Linked DNA regions of Homo sapiens: region 1 is linked to region 2. The links are contacts of gene promoters, found by promoter capture Hi-C in human tissues and cell types (Jung and others, 2019). All regions are on one chromosome and are shown on one strand. Each heading gives the region's core, a stretch centred on a gene start or on the middle of the fragment in contact. The rest is flanking DNA. Distances are from core to core; before and after follow the strand shown. Region 1 overlaps LOC102724687 (a long non-coding RNA gene). Region 2 holds the start of CRH (corticotropin releasing hormone).

Region 1 (3,095 bases), core at 201-2,700, 200 kb after region 2:
CTTGTGTAAACAGCCCTGGGGCACAGCCTCAAAGCTCCAACACCTACCATGCCAACACAACATCACCATACAATCATTCCAGCCACCGCTTTGTGGAAATGAGCAGCCCAGAAACCGCTCTGTGGAAGTGATCACCCAGACACTGCCCTGTGGAAGTGAGCGCCCCAAACACTGCTCTGTGGAAGTGATCAACCAGACACTGCTCTGTGGAAGTGAGAGTCCCACATACCACTCTGTGGAAGTCAGCACCCCAGACACCGCTTTGTGGAAATGATCACCCCAGACGCTGCTCTGTGGAAATGAGCACACCAGACACTGCTCTGTGGAATGAGAGCCCCAGACACTGCTCTGTGGAAGTGATCACCCAGACACTGCTCTGTGGAAGTGAGCGCCCCAGACATTGCTCTGTGGAAGTGAGCACCCCAGACACCGCTCTGTGGAAGTCAGCGCCCCAGACACTGCTCTGTGGAAGTGATCAACCAGACACTGCCCTGTGGAAGTGAGCACCCAGATACTGCTCTGTGGAAGTGATCACCCAGACACCGCTCTGTGGAAGTGAGCGCCCCAGACACCGCTCTGTGGAAGTGATCACCCAGACACTGCTCTGTGGAAGTGATCACCCAGACACTGCTCTGTGGAAGTGATCACCCAGACACTGCCCTGTGGAAGTGAGCGCCCCAAACACTGCTCTGTGGAAGTGATCAACCAGACACTGCTCTGTGGAAGTGAGAGTCCCACATACCGCTCTGTGGAAGTCAGCACCCCAGACACCGCTTTGTGGAAATGATCACCCCAGACGCTGCTCTGTGGAAATGAGCACACCAGACACTGCTCTGTGGAAGTGAGAGCCCCAGACACTGCTCTGTGGAAGTGATCAACCAGACACTGCTCGGTGGAAGTGAGCGCTCCAGATACTGCTCTGTGGAAGTGAGCGCCCCAGACACTGCTCTGTGGAAGTGATCAACCAGACACTGCTCTGTGGAAGTGAGCGCCCCAGACACTGCTCTGTGGAAGTGATCACCCAGACACGGCTCTGTGGAAGTGAGCGCCCCAGACATTGCTCTGTGGAAGTGATCACTCAGACACCACTCTGCGGAATTGAGTGCCCCAGACACTGCTCTGTGGAAGTGATCACCCAGACACGGCTCTGTGGAAGTGAGCGCCCCAGACATTGCTCTGTGGAAGTGATCACTCAGACACCACTCTGCGGAATTGAGTGCCCCAGACACCGCTCTGTGGAAGTGAGTGCCCCAGACACTGCTCTGTGGAAGTGATCACCCAGACACTGCTCTGTGGAAGTGAGCACCCCAGACATTGCTCTGTGGAAGTGAGCGCCCCAGTCACTGCTCTGTGGAAGTGATCAACCAGACACTGCCCTGTGGAAGTGAGCACCCAGATACTGCTCTGTGGAAGTGATCACCCAGACACCACTCTGTGGAAGTGAGTGCCCCAGACACTGCTCTGTGGAAGTGATCAATCAGACACTGCCCTGTGGAAGTGAGCGCTCCAGACACTGCTCTGTGGAAGTGATCACCCAGACACTGCTCTGTGGAAGTGAGCGCCCCAGACACCACTCTGTGGAAGTGATCAACCAGACACTGCCCTGTGGAAGTGAGCGCCCAGATACTGCTCTGTGGAAGTAAGCGCCCAGATACTGCTCTGTGGAAGTCATCACCCAGACACCGCTCTGTGGAAGTGAGTGCCCCAGACACTGCTCTGTGGAAGTGATCAACCAGACACTGCCCTGTGGAAGTGAGCGCTCCAGACACTGCTCTGTGGAAATGAGCACCCCAGACACTGCTCTGTGGAAGTGAACACCCAGACACCACTCTGTGGAAGTGAGCACCCCAGACACCGCTCTGTGGAAGTGAATAACCAGACACTGCCCTGTGGAAGTGAGCACCAAGACACTGCTCTGTGGAAGTGAGCGCCCCAGACACTGCTCTGTGGAAGTAATCACCCAGACGCCACTCTGTGGAAGTGATCAGCCAGATGCCACTTGTGAAAGTGAGCGCCCCGATGCCACTCTGTGGAAACTCAGCAGCTACCACAGTAGATGAAGAATAAAACTGGCACATGATTTGCCAGTGACAAACAAAGAATTATCACTCATCCCAAAGACGACCCTGGCAGACATATATGATTAACTCAAAGGGGACACCAAAGGCTTTACAGACAGCAAACAGAGAGAAGTGAAGCTGCTTGCCCAAGGTCATACAGGTAACAACAGCTGGGGCCAGATTCCAGCCCACATCTCTCTGGTTCCTAAAGCTGAGGGAGATGACATGCACCAAGGCTCCAGACTGTGCCAGGACACCCTCTCAGAGCCGCAGCCTGCGAAGAGGTTGGCTGAAGGGAGAGGGGGTTTGAAGTCTGAAGTACTTTTCCACTCCCTAAACAATTTATTGGTCTTCTCACCCCCATCCTGTCATTAACAGAGCTTCAAGAGCTGTTCAGTCTCCAAGCCATTTTGCTTTAGGAAGCTTTGATTTGAAAAATGAGATAAGTAGTTTCAGGGCTGTCATCAATAGGAAATTAGGGGATAAAAAGAAATCTATTTAAATGGCTTTTAAATATTCACAAGGCGAGCCATCGGGTCTCTGCCCTGTTCCTCTGCTCTGCTCCCCCTGCCCAGATAACCTGTCACATCAGTATAATGAATACAAGCTGTGCGGGTAGCAGATGTCGCAGTGGCAGGAGCACCGCCAGCAATGGCCTGAGCTCCTGCCCCCGCAGGAACTTGTTTCTTCAGGGAAGTGATTCCATAAAGGGTCTTTGACAAGGCTTCTCTCAAACAGCCACAAGACAAGATGCACTGGAAAATAACAGACACAAAGAAATGACAATCTGATTTAAAAGAAGCTTGTAAAGGAGTATAAATAGGTAAAACCTCTTTGGATGAAATTTGTGAAATGCACCAGAATTTAAATATGGATTCCCTCTGACCTCGTAATTCCACTTCTAGGACAATTACTAGAACATGTGTATGTATGCATATGCAAGGAGATGGCAGACACACTTTGACATTTGTAATCTGAAAAACCGCAAAGTAAATGTGCATCAATACAAGCATGTTTAAATGAATTATGTATATT
Region 2 (3,442 bases), core at 599-3,098:
CAGGTCTACATTCTCTTTAAAACACCACTATAAACACCTGGAAACGGAAACTAAACGTAGACAAAACGAATAACATTGTGTTGCTGCTGCACGTGAATACACTTTGTGCATGCTAAGTAAGGGGTATAGGCTCTCTCCCTCTCTCCCTCTATGTTTCAAGCTATATAAAAATAAACAAATGGCATAAGAGCAGCGCTATGGTACAGAATACTGTATTTTTTTAAATTTTTTTTGTGCTAAATGCAGATTCTTTTTGGCCAAACGCACCGTTTTATTTCCCAATAATCTCCATGAGTTTCCTGTTGCTGTGAGCTTGCTGTGCTAACTGCTCGGCCCTGGCCATTTCCAAGACTTCCCGGAGGAGGTGGAAGGTGAGATCCAGGGAGATGGGAGGCTCCTCGGACCGCCTTTCTCTCTCCGGTGCCTCCTGGTGGCCGCCGAGGGCATTCCTAGCGCCGCGCTCCGCGAGAGCCGCGGGGCTGTCGAGCGAGCGCCGAGGCAGCAGCAGCTGCTGCAGCAACACGCGGAAAAAGTTGGCGGTCGCCTGTTCCGGCGAAGGGCGGCTGCCGCTGCCTCCGGCGAGGAGCGAGGAGGCGGGCGAAAGGGGAGCGGCCGGGCTCTTGTTGAGGTTCCCCAGGCGGAGGAAGTACTCCTCTCCCATGCGGAGCAGGACCGGCCGAGCCTGCGGCTGCTGGGGCTGCTCGGACTGCGGCGGCGGCTGGAAGAAATCCAAGGGCTGAGGGTGCTGCGGCGCCTGCCGAGCTCCCGGGACCGGCCCGCGGCTCAGGAGCGCCCTGCATGGCGGGCAGGGCAGGAGAGCCACCAGCAGGACTCCCGCGGACACAAGCAGCGGCAGCCGCATGTTAGGGGCACTCGCTGCGGCACAGAGGTGGGCGGAGGGCGGAATGAGAGAGGGGAAGAGAGAAAGAAAGAGTTGGTTAGAGTTCGCTCAGCTGGGAGGTGCACACGGGGTCTTCCTACGGGACTGCCTTAGACGTGCTGGGCTTTGGCCTCAGTGATTCGGATGGGCGCTGTCCGCGGTGCTGAAGCGCCTGGGGAGCGGGGAAAGGGGGCGCCTGCAGGGCTCCGCACCTAAGCTCATGCGCTCACCGGCCAGGAGTGACCCTTCTTTCTAGACTCTGAAAGGACGGTCCCTGCGTCCTCTTCCTAACGATCCTCAAAACTAATTTTCCCGATCCTAGAGAAGAGCCACAGATTTAAGATCCCACCCGCGCTGACTACCTCCCTTCCGGATATTTCAGCATTTTCTTCCAAATTGAGAACTACTGCCTCATGGTCCTCCCTCTCCACTTCTGCCCTTGCTGCCTTATCTCGGGGGTTAGGATAGAAGGGGGTGGGGGAGCTCCTTTACACAGCCAGCAAGGAGCAACTGGCAGCACGGGTAACGAAGAGCAGCCGTCTAAGTTTGCTTTTGCCACATCCCAGCTACTATTGTAATCTTAAGGAATAGTCCGCGAACACGCGCGCACACACACACGCACGCACGCGCGCATACACACACACACATACGCATACACACATGCATACACACACACACACGCACGCACACACATGCATACACACGTACACAGGCAGGGGCAGCCGGCTCCGCGGCGCACATCGCGGCAGCTCAGGCAACGCAAAGTTGGTGGCGTGTTCCGTCCAGGCGCTCCCTACCTTCCCAGGCGCTTCGCAGGTGAGCCGGGTGCTGCCGCCTCTCTGCAGAGAGACGTCTCCGGGGGCTTTCTCTGGAGGTTGTCTTCCTTTCTCTTTACTGTTCCCACTCTCTTTTTCTTTCTCTCCTCTCTTTCCCCTCAGTCTCTCAATGGACTTGGTCTCTGAGTTTCTCCACTCCAGAGCCTGGAGTGGGATTTTATAGTGTCGACCCTCTTCAAAAACCACGCAGCATTTGCCTAATAAGCTGACGCTCTCTTGACAGCTCGATTGCGTGCTGCCTCTGCTCCTGCATAAATCATAGGGCCCTGCCAAGGAACGAGGGGCAGAATTTTGCTATCTCAACACTGAATCTCACATCCAATTATATCAACAGATATTTATCGCCTCTTGGTGACGTCAACGAGCCCTAAAATGGAAGGGCTTCTTATGACTTGTCCATTGACAAAAATTCTTGAATGAGATTTCCCAAGTGTGAAAACATATTGACCTCTTACTATGAAAGGCCATATTAGGGGTGTGCAAAGAGACAGCGAATGGGAGGAGGAAGGGGAAGTGGGAAGGAAGTGAGGTGTCCCAGTGCAGCCCTGCCAGGAAAGCAGCAGCCAGTTGGAGGGGGTGGACCTGGATGCCCCTTCTCCTAACCTCCCTGACCAGGTGTCTCTGACAACACCTCAGTATCTGGAAATATCCCTTTGCTAGAGACAGAGTCCCACCATCTTTCTGCCTGGAAAAGAATGAAGCATCAGGAGAGGGGTGTGCAGGAACATCCAGCTTTTAAACGTCTATCTGCTTTTTCCTCCCAAGAGCAAGCACATAAAGGAGTTATGAGCCTGCAGAAGCAAGGCCAATAAATCTCTCAAAATGCAGTTCAAGTTTTTTAGATGATGACAAGAGCTACTCCCATAGTGAAGGGGCACAAACCGGGGTTAGTAAGGGGTGCGGCAAAGATTTTAGGTTATCTCAGAAACTCTCTGCTCCTTTTTTTGTCTCTCTTCTCACAATCTAAAATTAATTGTGGACTCCCTTTTCTATTCCCAAATTAAAGAGAGAGGCGGCCAGTGAGAGATGCATGAGTTAAACAAGCTTTACTTATTCTACTGAATGCAAACTCAATGAGAGGCATCCATTCTAACTTCCTAATCTATGTTGAAAAAGGCTTAAACTGCTTGACTACAGGGCTAAATTCATTAGTTACATGTTTTCATTGGTCAATATTGAGTCTGTAAAAAAAAACTCGTTCATTTCACCTCCAAATACTATCAACATCCATAATAGTATCCACATCTGGGCCACCCAGGGTGGTTCTTTTTAATTATTTCTTTTTCCAAATCCAAATGTGCTTCATGTCAGCCTGTTAAATAAATAAATGCTCTCTGACATGTCGCAGAATGGAATGGAATGCTAAGCCTGTAAAACTATATTCAATTTTTGATTAATTGACACTATCATATAGGTGGGAGGCAGTTACCTCTAATTCTGCAATTCAAAATGCAATTCCAAGTTCTTGTGCCTGTGATTCAATTCAGCTTCCAGATAACCATCAGAGTTGTTTATCGGAAATTTCCTGCTCCTCATTTCTGATTACTTCTGCTGCTTCCTTTGTAGCTAATGTGACAAATGATGCAATGCATATTTCAACTTCCATTTTGGGTCTATACCAATCCACAACTGCTCTTAGGAACAAAGGGAAGGCAGGGAGAGAAATGTTGACAGTTTGCAGAGAAGCCAGCCCATAGTTGGATCACTGCACCATGTTATGTACTTT

The links. Contacts are between HindIII fragments. The study calls those that stand out against the background at their distance.
Region 1: a contact is called between a fragment that was not itself captured here and the fragment with the promoter of CRH in region 2, in 1 of the 25 tissues and cell types used here (hippocampus).

What each region holds. Positions count from the first base shown.
Region 1 is chr8:66,375,954-66,379,048 of GRCh38, forward strand. The region is part of intron 1 of LOC102724687 (a long non-coding RNA gene); the gene reads right to left. Among named protein-coding and RNA genes, the nearest start is that of RRS1-DT, 51 kb to the right of the region's middle. The HindIII fragment of the contact is 3,476 bases long and covers 1-3,095 here.
Region 2 is chr8:66,176,616-66,180,057 of GRCh38, forward strand. CRH (corticotropin releasing hormone) reads right to left here and starts at 1,849. Exons shown (of 2, transcript NM_000756.4): 1 at 1,678-1,849; 2 at 1-876. The coding sequence starts at 862. The coding sequence ends at 272. It overlaps LOC112268029 (a long non-coding RNA gene), which reads right to left. Exons shown (of 4, transcript XR_002956713.2): 4 at 3,271-3,345. RefSeq lists an enhancer at 735-804. The HindIII fragment of the contact is 9,798 bases long and covers 1-3,442 here.